Linked DNA regions of Homo sapiens: all the other regions are linked to region 2. Evidence: promoter capture Hi-C in 16 types of primary human blood cells and fetal thymus (Javierre and others, 2016). All regions are on one chromosome and are shown on one strand. Each heading gives the region's core, a stretch centred on a gene start or on the middle of the fragment in contact. The rest is flanking DNA. Distances are from core to core; before and after follow the strand shown.

Region 1 (4,068 bases), core at 1,569-4,068, 300 kb before region 2:
CTGTGCGTGGGAAGGGGGTGTCTACCTTTCGAACGTGTACTCGCTTTCCGCCCTGAAGTAGTAGACGTGGGACTTGAAGTGCAGCTTGAACACGTAGTCTTTCTGGATGTTCTCGGACTCAGAGGGGATGGTGAGCGAGTAGCCGAGCAGAGGCAGGCTGGCAAGGGGATGATTGTCCTGGAAAGGGGAAACAAAGCAAAGTGGCTTTTCGGGGTCAGCTTCTGCTGCTGGGCCTGGCTGCTGCCCCGCATCAGACAGGGACTTGGGAGCCCAGGCAGCTCCCTCCTCGGGCGTGGGCCTGGAAGGGACCATGGCAGCCAGTGTTTGCCTGTACGTGATGGCCCGGGTGGCAAGTCCCGCCAGGACTGAGCTGTAGATAAAGCCAACCCCCGTCCCTTGTCCAGGCAGAAGACAGGTGGCCCTTCCTAGGGCAGAAGTTGTCCTTCAGTGGATGATAATGTCAGTCTTCCCTAGAGTTGAGGGCCTCGGGTGGACAGGGCCCCCCGCCAGCATCCCTGTCATCCCCGTGACACCTGGAGCCCAAGAGGCCTGAGTCATTCCAGAGGAGGGCGGCCCCCTCACCTCATGCTGCCACCCCCAAGGTCCCAGGGCCACCTGCCCTGTGCGAGACACTTACCTGGTGTGATTTGTAGAAGAACAGGCAGAAGTTTGTGAACACCACCCACAGCTTCTGCCACCCGTTGCTGTTTTTGAATTTCCTCAGCAGGTTTCCAGACAACTGATTCTGAAAGGCAAGGAGGCCTGTGAGAAGCACAGCGGGCACCTGCCCCAGGAGGGCACAGAGAGCAGCTCTCCCTGCACCAGGGCCCTGGGCTGGGGCATGTCCGTGACTGAAGGATGTGGGCCCCACCCCCGCTCCCCCGTGTGTGGGGAGACTTGGCAGGTCCTGGGACCCTGATCTCATCACTTCCCCTTGTCACTTGCTGTGGGGCATCTTGGGGTCCCTGTGTCCCCCCAAAAGACACGTTGAGGTCCTGACTACCAGTACCTTAGAACACAGGCTTATTTGGAAATAGGCTCGTTGCAGGGTAACTAGTGAAGACGAGATCACACTGGGGTAGGGTGGGCCCTAAATCCAACGGGAGTGGTGTCCTGAGGAGAAGAGCCACCTTGAGGGGAGAGGGGTGTGCCCTGTGACACCGAGGCAGAAATGGGGGCGCAGGACCCCATGCATTGCCAGCAGGCGGAAGCTGAAGGAGGGAAAGATCCATCCCAACAAGCTCAGAGCAGCACTCGTTTTGAGGGGCCAGGCACCCTACCCAGGAAGTGGGGCCTGGGGTGCATGTGAGTGGCTCCCACATGCCCTCTAGTGGCCCAGGAGGCAGTTGCAGCCCTGCCCACCTCCAGGCTCAGGGCCGGCCCAGCCCCTGGAGCATTGTTAGGATGCGCTGCAGCCCAGCTAGGGGGCAGGGACAGGCACCTGTGTCCATGCTACCTCCAAACAACTCTGAGCAGGCCTGACGCACTGGTGGCTCATTTCGTCCCTTTGCCAAAGTGACATCACCAGCAGAGACTCAAAGCAGTTGCACCACCTTGTAAAGGCACTTAATGCCACTGAATTGTTCCCGTAAAAATCGTTAAGTTGGCCAATATTGTGGTATAGCTATTTTACCACAATAAAAAATACAGACCTCCGAGTCTGCCTCATTCCATCTCTCTGGGTGCCCCTGGCACTAAGCTTCTGTGCTGGGAGCTGGGATCAAATGGTCTGATGTCCCTGCCCTCCAGTTGCTCAGGGAGGGTCCAGTGGGAGACATGGACACTGACAGTAGGTCCGTGAGGGGCTGCAGGATGTGGGGGACCCCGCAGACGGGGAGAAAGGGCATTCCAGGCCAGGCAGGCAGCTCCAGCCATCCATCCTCCTCCCCCAGTGGCAGAAAGGAACAAGAAAATGCAAGGCTCCAGGTTCCCAGAAGGTCCTGGTGGTGGCCAGGGCTGGGCTGATGCCCATGCGGCATCTTGGGTCACGCAACATGGAGCAAGGAGGGTGGCACACTCCCCTTTCCTAGGTATTTTCATACTGACTCACATAATTTTCACACAGCAGCCAGCCCACAGTGGGGTTCATACATGTCACCCATCACAGTCTGGGCCCATTTGTTTCCAAAGCAGCTTCCTTAGCGCTCTCTAGCTTCTGCCTGGCCATTCCAATAGCCTCTGGAAACCTCTTTATCAATAGGCACATCCAGCGGCCCTTCCTCGCTCCCCACGGCCGGGCCGAGCCTCCCGCTCCCCTGTGTCGGGTCCATCCTGGCCTCCAGCGTGTTACGGGCCCTGCGCGCCATGAGTCTCCTGCCCTGCACTCAGGAGGCCGAGGCCATGCTGGTGGCTCCCAGACCTGTCTCCATTCACTGCCTTCACGAGAGGGTCAACATCCTTGTTCAGAACCAGACCAGCCTGCCCTGTCTCCTCGTGGCCCTTCATTGGGGCCACCGCTCCTCTCCCTTCTTGGATCCCATTCCCTCAGACCCTGCTGTGGGTTGAATTGCACCCCCAACAAGTCCAAACCCTCCGTGCCTACAATGGTGACCTCACATGGACACAGGGTCTCTGCAGATGCGATCGAGTCAAGGTAAGGTCACTAGGACGAGCCCTAAGCCCAGCACGAGCCGTGTCCTTAGAAGAGGATATTAGAGTGCAGATACAGGGAGGACAGCTGGTGACACGGCAGACCGGAGCCCTGCAACATGGGTGGAGTCGGGGACCCCCCGAGAAGAAGACTGCCGCAGCCACCAGATGCTGTCAGGTGGGGACATTTTCCCTCAAGGCCTCCCAAAGGAACCCACCTGCCAGCAGCTTGATTTTGGACTTCCGGCTTCCCGCACTGTGGGAGATGTTTCTGTGGCCTCACCCAGTCTGAGGTTGGTGCCGAGTGACGCCACGGGGAACAAATATAACCCCCGTGCCCGCCACTCCCTGGCCTCACTGTCCCTTCCCTCCTTCCGGTCCTGTCTGCACCCCGTCCCTTCCCTCCTCCCAGTCCTGTCTGCGCTCTGTCTGCTGAACAACTTCCCTGCTGTCCCGTCTCGCCACTCCAGCCTTAAAAGACAACTTGCATTGCTTTGCCTCTGGCCCTTCACTGGCTCTAGTGCCCACAGGCTGGGCAGCCCTCTGGCCATCCCAACATCTGACCCCACCTCTAGTGGGAGCCCCCAGGCCTGCCGGCTTGCCCACAACTTTTAGCAGAGGCCAGTGAGGCCACACGGTCCCCAGATACGCCCCTTCCTCAAGTGTGCCTACACGAGTCAGACGGGAGTGGGAACTGGGAGAGGCTGGGCACGGGACTGGGGAGAGGAGGCTGTTGAGTCAGGAGGAGATGGAGCTGCTTTGTCCTGTCATGCAGGGAGGAGGCCCTGGGGATGGCTCATCTGCGAGTCAGCGAGCATTTGGCGTCTGGCACATGAGGGCTGCCTGCCACCGACACAAGATTGATGCCACGTGCCTTGGGAGGGGGCTTTCTGGCAAGGAGGGACATCTGCAAAGTGATAGAGCAGCCCAGGTCCCTGACTGTACTAGGTGGTCACTGCCACCTTCAAACCCCACTGGCCAGTGGCTCACTCTCCTGCTCTCTACTAGGGTCAGCAAACTTTTCCTCAAAAGGCAGACGGCAGATATTTCAGGCTTTGCAGGCCAAGGGGCAAAACTGAAGACATTATGTAGCAGCCATTAAAAAAAAGTGAAACCCATTCTTGGTTCGCAGGCTGTAAGCCACCAGGCCGGGGCTAGATCTGGCTGGGGGCCAGCGTGCCCCTGACTCAGTGCCTTGACCTGATCATGCACACGGAAGGCTGCGACCGTGTAGATTTGTTATCCAAAAAAGCTGGGCTGCAGGTGGCTCTGGGCCACCTGGACCCCACTTGGGTATTTGCTGCCTCGTTGAATGGCCTGGGTGCCTCCAGGTATGTAAAAAGCTTTGAGGCCTATGACAAACCCCAGCCTTGAGAGTCGTAATTCACACATTGCTGAGGTCAGGACGAAGCAAGGCCAAGACGGTTCCTCCCCAGTGGCGGCGCCACACATCGACTGGCTTCGTTTCAGACACACGCC
Region 2 (3,969 bases), core at 403-2,902:
GAAAGATGTTTCTTTCTCCTCTCCTTGTTCAGACTGAATAAGAAAAGCAAGACAATGCTGGAGGATGTTCTGAAATGGGCTCCGCAAGTCACCACGTGCAAAGCACATTAAACAGAAGCCAGTGCTAGGCCAGGGTTTGGCTCTGAAGATGTTGCCTACTGGAAGGAGAGGGGCCCCCGGGGGTTTCCACGCAGAGACCAGGGCTGGGCGGTCAAACCTGGTAAACTGACAAGGAGAAGAGCCTTAACAACAATATAATGAAACGGCCAGAGGCCACCGGTACTCCCCAGGGCTGGGAGAGACAGGGAGGCCGAGGCTGCTAAACTGTTCCAGATGACAAGCAGGCTCTCCCACGTCTCCACGAACTGATCAGATACCAGGGCCTCGCTTCTTTGTGAGCCTCAGCTCCCTCCTTTCTGGGGAACCCTACTCGATCCCCAACAGCCGCTGGCCTCCAGCTGCCACAAACGAGATCCAGACTCATTACAGGGAATTCGTATTTCCCCCCCTCAAATAAAACACACACACACACACACACACACAGAGTCTCCGGGGTCCAGCCGGATCACACAGCTAAAGTTTCCGGAACTTGAATCGTAAAACCACAATCAGAAGTTGTTTGGAAATACTCGCCGCAAAGCAATCTGTCCTTTGCTTTAAAAAATAAAAAATAAAAAAAACTTTGCCCTGCATAAAGGCAGACAGTAAAGAGAGACACAAATCTAACTTGGGCAGAGGGTGTGTTCCTCTTTGTCACCCGCCGGGAACCCTCGCGCCGCGCGTGGGCGAGCGGCGGGCACCCGGCGGCATCCGCGCCAGCGGCCACCTCCCCGGCCCGCAACCGGCCTCAGGGGCCGAGATTGCGGCCCGAGGTCCGGAAGCGGCGTCCAGCGCTGTCAGCGGGCGGGTAGGACGGAAGGAAACGGGGGAAGGGCGCCGGGGTCGGGGGAGGCGAGCGGGGACCGGCGCGGAGCCCCGCAGCCCGACGTCGGCGGAGGTGAGGGGAGAGGGGCGCAGGGGGCAGCCCGGAGCCCCGAGGCCCCCGAGCTCCTGCGATGGTGGCCGGGGCTGCCCGGGCCCGACCCGCCGCCCGACTGCGCAGGGCAGGACCTCGGGGACCACGCGCCCACCTTCGCCCGCAGCCGCGGCCGTGCGCTGCGGGAGCCTGGACTCGCACAAGTTGCCGCCCGCGGCCCGGACCCCGCCGGCCCCCGCCCTCCCGCCGCGGTCATTGTTCACCGCGCGCCTCCTACCTCCACAGCGCCGGCGGCTGCGGCGGCTCCCTCTCCCGGCTCGGGCTCCGGGATCGGCGGCTCCCAAGCCCCCGGCGGCCGAGGGCGCGGCGGCGCCGGCTATTAATACCCGCGGGCGGCGGCGGCGCGGGCGCGCGAGCAGGGCTGGCGGTGGCCGGCTGAGGTCCGAGCCATCAAAGGTGGCGCGGGGCGGAGGGGAGGGCGGAGCAGGCGGGGTGGGTGGGGAGCGGGCTCCGGGTCGCCATGGCCGCCTCGACGCCGGGGCCAGCGCTACTCGCGCAGGGAGGAGCGGCGCAAAGCGGGCAGCGGCCGCGTCCCCGCCCCGCGCCCCAGCCGAGCGCCCGCACCGCTGCGCCCGCGCCGGACCCGCCGCCTCTGAGGCCGGCGAGCGGGAAGTGCAGTGGCCACCGCCCCTCCCCGGGTCTGGGCCGGCCCCTCGGCGGGGGGAGGCGGGCGCCGCGCAGCCCGAGCAGCGGGGACGCGGGAGAGCCACAGCCCCCTCCAGCGTCCGGGCCCGCGCCCTGCGCCCGCCCCGCCCCGCTCCGCTCCGCCCGGGCAGGTGCGCCCAGGGGCCTCCCGAGCCCAGCGCGCCGCCGGGGATCTGCGCCTCTCTTGGGCTTCCGGCCAGGGCCGGGCTCCGCGCGGCGCTACCTAATGCAGCGCGGGGAGCGCCACTGGCGAGACGCGAATCCAGCAGCTGTGGCGAAAAACGAACCGGGGAGAGCGGGAGACGTGTGCACGGCGAAGCCGGGAGCGGCAGGCGGGCGGTCAGGGGCTCGGACTCTGCAGGTCGCTTTTTGAGGTCCTGCCTGGGGCTGCTTCGCCTGCGACGTCGCGCGGGGAGGACAGTCTTCAGGGACCCACCGAGCCCTCCCCTCCCCCGGAGCCACAGGCACGGGCTTCCGGCACCACCCCGGGCTGCGCGGGACTTAAGCTTGGGGGAGCGGCGGCCACCCCGCGCCCGCCCACGTCCTGGCCCAGCGCCCTCCGCCCGAGCGAATCCCATGACAGTTCCCGCCCGCCCAGCCTCGGGGGACAGTGCCCTTGGGGAATGGCGTGGGGGAGGTTAGGAGTGGCTTGCGGTGCTTGAGAGCCTTCGGGGTTTCGGGAACTCTACGGAGCGGGGAGCAAGATTCAGGACCCAGGAGGCAGCGATCTAGGGGCACAGTCACCGTCCCCACCCAGCAGCTGCCGCGTTACCTTCTCTTCCCCCTTCTGAGCCTCCAGTCCCTCTCTCTAAGCGTGGCGGGAAGAGGCCTAGGGCGCAGCAAGTGACGTTCTGCCAGACCCGGGGCTAGCGGATTCCGGCCTTCGGAGGCCACTGGCTCAGAACCGTGGGCCTTTTGCGTCTTACAGGAGTTCCCTGACCTCAGACCGAGAGGGCAGATTTCACGGGAGAGGCCTCAAGTGAACTCACAGCTGGACAGGAGCTGGGCAGAAGTGGAGTGTAGGGACCCTGATAGAAGGGCGGGTTGAGACAAGAACAGGGGTCTTGGAAGTAGGGGGTGCTTGTGGGCAGCTCCTGGGGAGGAGCAGAGATGTAATACTTGCAGATTTGGTGGTCTGTGGTTGAAGAGAAGAAATGGTGGGTTTGAGGCTTTGCTCTGTCAGCCCAACCAGCTGTGTGTCACAGATCAGATTTTTTTCTGCTCGTGATTCTCTAAGTGTGGTTCTCAGACCACGACCACCACCAGCAGCCCCTGGAAACGTCAAGAAATGAACATTCTTGGGCCGCATCCCCGACCTACCTAATGAAACCTTAGCAAGCATCTGAATCGCCTGCAGGGATAAAGGACTGTCAGGCTCCATCCCCAGAGCTGCCGATTCAGTAGGTTTGGGGTGGGGCCTGAGAGTTTGCATTTCTAACAAATTCCCAGATAGTGATGTTGCTCTGGTCCTGGGATCACACTTGGAGGATCACAGTGTTAGGACAGTGGGTCTCAAACTCATGGAATCATCTGCGATTAAAAAACAACACCCTGGTTGCACCCCAGCCAAATATATAAAGATTCTAACCCAGGCATCAGTAAAGTTCCGCAGGTGATTCCAGTGTGTAGCCAGGTTTGAGAACAGTTGCTGTAGGCGGCTTTTTAAACTCTAGTGTATACCTGAATCACCAGGGAATCTTGTTGGAATGCAGATTCTGATTCAGTAAGTCTGAGACTGTTTCTAACAAGCTCTCAGGTGTTACTTGCTGGTCCAAGGACTACACGTAGTAGCAAAGTGCTATGTCATACCTCCCAACTAAAAGGAAAAAATTAGGCCGGGCGCGGTGGCTCACTCCTGTAATCCCAATACTTTGGGAGGCTGAGGCAGGTGGATCACCTGAGGTCAGGAACTTGTAAACCAGCCTGGCCAGCATGGGGAAACCTCGTCTCTACTGAAAATACAAAAATTAGCTGGGCGTGGTGGTGCGCGCCTGCAATCCCAGCTACTCGGGAGGCTGAGGCATGAGAATTGCTTGAACCCGGGAGGCAGAGGTTGCAGTGAGCCGAGATCGTGCCATTGCACTCCAGCCTGGGCAACAAAGTGAGACTCCATCTCAAAAAAAAAATCATAAAAATAATAAAAGCAAAAAATCATAGAAAGCGCAGAAAATTAGAAAAGTGACATTTTCCCAGTCACTCTCTTTGCAAGACCGACATTTTCTACATGTTACAGCATTTCTTTCATAGTCTTTGTATGTCTAGAATTAGATTTAGTTGTGATCTTAAAA
Region 3 (3,940 bases), core at 56-2,555, 260 kb before region 2:
GACAGAATACTGACAAAAATGAGACTACTGATTGCATTCTCAATTTTTCTTTTCCAAAATTTTAAAGTGCAATTATAAAAAAGTTTCTATGCTTTTTCTTCAATATTCCCCCACATAAAATTATTTATTTTGCAATCTTCTGGGTGCCACTTATCTACCATAATTTGTCTTCTTTTATTCTGTTCTAAAACATAGGAGATTTTCTCTCTATGTGCCCAGAATATGCTCAAAAGGCCCAAGTAGGAAATATATTAGAGATGTAGGTTTTCATCTATTTTTTTGAAAGGCTCTATTTAAATCCATACGCTCTAAGAGGATACAATGAAACCTCTCTTGAGATTATCCCATTTGAAAGCCAGTTATCAAAAAAAAGGGCAGTATTATGCTGAATAATACGTAGCTTCCTGAATAGGCAGGACTCACTAGCGTCTGATATCTAAGTTGGGGCTCAGTGGAATACGCAAAGCTGGCGGTATTTTATAGAAATTACAAAGTTCCACAAGAAAAGCCAGGTTATAGGATTACCCATGTTAGCAGTGTGGTCCTCTTCTTGATACCTGAGGTTGTTGAGGGTAATGTATGTGTGCTTCTTAGACCCAGTTCCTTTAAGAAAAGTTTCACAAGCAGCTAAGCATCAGCTTCACAGTTCATCATCAAGCAATTCAGAAAAGCAATAGCAATGCAACTTGCAGGAAAAGAATTGAAATGCACTAATGGAAAAATGAATGTGCTACCTTGTTCTTACTTATGAGGAAAAGACACAGGAGAATGCTGCTTTGTTTGAACACGGTGGTGGTGATGGTGGTGGTGATGTTGGTAGTAGCAGTGGTGGTGGTGATGGTGGTGGTGGTGGTGGTGGAGGCAGTGTTTGGGTTGGGAACATGGTGCTTCGTACCAATGAAAAATACCATCTTGTACTCAGGACAAAGCTTCAGCCATCAGTGGGAAAGAACAGTTACAATGGACAGTTTTTACAGCATGATACCTGTTAGGACAAGTAAAAGCCCCTTCAGTTTAGATCAACAAGAGATATATTAATACCGTGCATACACTGTGACATGAGCTTGGCCTTCCATGCTCAAAGAACCACCAAGCTCATTGTTACTGGAGAAGCCAGCATTCTTCCCAGTGGTATGAGTCCATGCTTTATTGACGTACTTCATTGTTCCGCCATGGAGAGAAGAAGAAACCAGACAGCATCTGTGAGAACCTACATGTTGGGTGCCCACCAAAATGAAAAACAGCTCCTTGGCCATCAGAAGCCAACTGGGACCAAGTCAGGTGAGGCCTTTTCTACATTCCCACCCACTTCCCCACCCAGCAACACACACACGTATCTACATATCTATAAGCTAAATTCTCTTACAGATATGACATAGGTAAAGGTTTCTATCCCAATTGAAATAGATGTTTCCATTCAAAACATAAAGGCAAATCCATGGTTGGCTGTCTAGGCTCTCCATGCAAGCTACAGTCACAGATGCGTTCTGTTTCAGTGAGACCTCTCCTCTAGCTACAGTGATCCTGCTCACCTCTAAGGGCCCCCCTTCTCCCATGCACTGCCCAAAGTATAAAGTGCAAGCCTTGTTGGAAGAGCAAAGTTCACCTCTTCTTTTCCCACTTTAGTGAAATATGGCATCACCCAGGACGATCACTTAGGATGCTTCCACATGAAAGCTTGCACTTTGGGGAATAGGATCACTGTATTCTAGAGGAAAGAGGTATTCCAAGTACAAATTGGTATTCAGCAGTGTTAAAAAAAAAAAAAAAGACATCAGACAGTGCTCCAACAGTGTAAGAACAGAAGCTACACCATGCTTTGAGGGTAAAGACAGAACGCTGAAAACAAAGCGTTTTCTCCTAGATAGGTACATGCTGACAAGACACTGCATACAATGGAACAACGGAAAATGTTTTCCCAAACTGATTAAACAAATGACAAAAATGAGAATGAAGTCCCCAGCCTTTTCTATTTCAAATTAATTTGGTGTATTAGAAATTTTAAATAAAACATATTATCTACAGTATTAAATATACACACAGAGAGAACAGAAGGGAATTTGATTAATAATATAGGCCAAGCTGGTGAGGTTTGGTTAGTTAGGTTTTCACAGCAACCTTAGGAGGCAGAAACAGGAGTATGGGTAAGGGATTTATCCATCAGCCATTCTTGGTGCTTCTGGAGCGAGCAGCCAGTGTGCGTCCTTAACTAAGGAAGACCTATCTTCAGTCTTTCAATAAATCACTGCAGGGAAAGTGACAAATGCTTTACTTCCTACAAAGAAACTTTGAGGCCCAGAAGAAAAAGGAGTCGTTAGCTTGGTTTCAAGAGCCAGAAAAGGTCATCTATGAGTAATAACAGACTGGTCACCATGCCACTGCAGGCTCCTAAGTGACCCTTCTATCATTTCCCACTTTAAGGCCAGCTATCAATCCTGATTCATAATAAAGCAGACTCACTCCCTCACAACCCCCACACCACTACCGCCTCCACATCTCACTCAAAAGTGGAGTCAATCACTGTCCGATGCATTTTACTCCACACACGCACACCTGCCCGGTAGTCCTCGCTCCCTCCTTAGCGTCCTTGGTCTGTGTGCTTTTCCATGTTGCAGTGATTTCTAACTACTCCTCACTCCTCAACATTCTGCAATTGCTGCACCTGGCCCCAGCAGCACACTCCAGTATCTCACAGCACGATTTTCCATGACCGCACTGGCGGCGCCGGCCCTGTAGAGTTAACCTTTTAGACTGGCTTTCAACTACTCATGGAGATCAGATATCCCGTGGCAAGTTGATTTTTAATCTTCCCTACTTTCAAACAGAAAGCCACTCCAAGACAAATCAGAGTAACCTGATCTGGAGACTACATGAAGATGCAAATGCACTGCCTCCACTCCAAGTAACACTCCAACACCGGGCGCCGAGAAGATGCTGAAGGCTTGGTTTCGAGGCTACCATGCTGTGATGTCTGTGTCGAGTGGCCAATCTACACCGAAATGATCCTGAATAAATCAGAGTCTATTCAATGTTTAAAGCTTTCAGGAAAAGAAGATTTTCTAATTCTTCCCTAGCATCTACCAAGACGTTTAATTGCTTTCACTAGGGGTTAAATAAAAAAGTTCCTCCTGCTTGAGGTTTCATCTTTTTTTTTTTTTTTGGAGTGGTGTGCAGTTTATTTTATGAAGTGAGAACTTTTTTCAAAACAAGACGCTATCTCCCCTCCTCCCAAACACACATATGGCACAATAAATCAGCATTTACCACTTCTGTTCATGGGGAAATGCTTGGAAATCTCTCTCTAGGTTACTCTAGGAAATGACAAAGTTGCCCTTTTCAAGGATATACCCAAACAGCTAGCACCAGGCCACTTTTGATCTGTGATGTCTACAACTCCAGGCCAAATCATCATACAGATTGTGTGTGTGTGTGTGTGTGTGTTTTGTCATTATTTTTTAATAGAAAGAAAACTGTTATATTAAGTGTCACGCTAATTTTGGCCTAAAAGTCACAGCTTCATTTTAAATCCCAACAACTGGGAGAGGTGTGTACATGTGCTCACTAGAGACACCATTTTTATTAAGTTTCACTCAATTAAACAGAAACAGATGGAATTAAACTAACAAGGAAAAAAAACAGTACCAGTAAATTCTTTAATGTTGTCAGAGTAAATGTCTTTATGCCGCTCACAGAAGTTCATTCAATCGTACCTTTCTCTCCATATGCTCTTACGGGCTTGGCTAACAGAGAGCCAATATAAAACTCATCAGAGAGCTACCATTTTAAGTGGAAATGGTAGCAACGGATTATTTTTAAATGGCCACCTCTTTAAATTTATGCCTGAGGTTGTAATTTTTTGAATTTTTGTAATCAGACCTTGATGATGACCGTGAGCAGTAAGATATAAATAACTCCCACATGCTTAGCGTTCCAATAATGG

Evidence for each region. Contacts are between HindIII fragments. The CHiCAGO score rates a contact against its expected background, and 5 or more counts as called.
Region 1: a contact is called between a fragment that was not itself captured here and the fragment with the promoter of FARP1 in region 2, in 1 of 17 cell types (endothelial precursors). The highest score is 7.1, in endothelial precursors.
Region 3: a contact is called between a fragment that was not itself captured here and the fragment with the promoter of FARP1 in region 2, in 1 of 17 cell types (endothelial precursors). The highest score is 6.5, in endothelial precursors.

What each region holds. Positions count from the first base shown.
Region 1 is chr13:98,442,775-98,446,842 of GRCh38, reverse strand. It overlaps FARP1 (FERM, ARH/RhoGEF and pleckstrin domain protein 1), which reads right to left. Exons shown (of 27, transcript NM_005766.4): 25 at 638-745; 26 at 26-177. STK24 (serine/threonine kinase 24) reads left to right here. Exons shown (of 11, transcript NM_001032296.4): 11 at 1-1,658. Among named protein-coding and RNA genes, the nearest start is that of FARP1-AS1, 9.0 kb to the right of the region's middle. RefSeq lists enhancers at 734-783, 1,554-1,603 and a silencer at 714-1,008. The HindIII fragment of the contact is 2,233 bases long and covers 1,702-3,934 here.
Region 2 is chr13:98,140,777-98,144,745 of GRCh38, reverse strand. It overlaps FARP1 (FERM, ARH/RhoGEF and pleckstrin domain protein 1), which reads right to left and starts at 1,652. Exons shown (of 27, transcript NM_005766.4): 1 at 1,254-1,652. LOC105370328 (a long non-coding RNA gene) reads left to right here and starts at 836. Exons shown (of 3, transcript XR_931670.4): 1 at 836-907. RefSeq lists silencers at 1,602-1,911, 2,152-2,201. The HindIII fragment of the contact is 2,199 bases long and covers 1-2,189 here.
Region 3 is chr13:98,400,917-98,404,856 of GRCh38, reverse strand. The region is part of intron 13 of FARP1 (FERM, ARH/RhoGEF and pleckstrin domain protein 1); the gene reads right to left. Among named protein-coding and RNA genes, the nearest start is that of FARP1-AS1, 33 kb to the left of the region's middle. The HindIII fragment of the contact is 748 bases long and covers 932-1,679 here.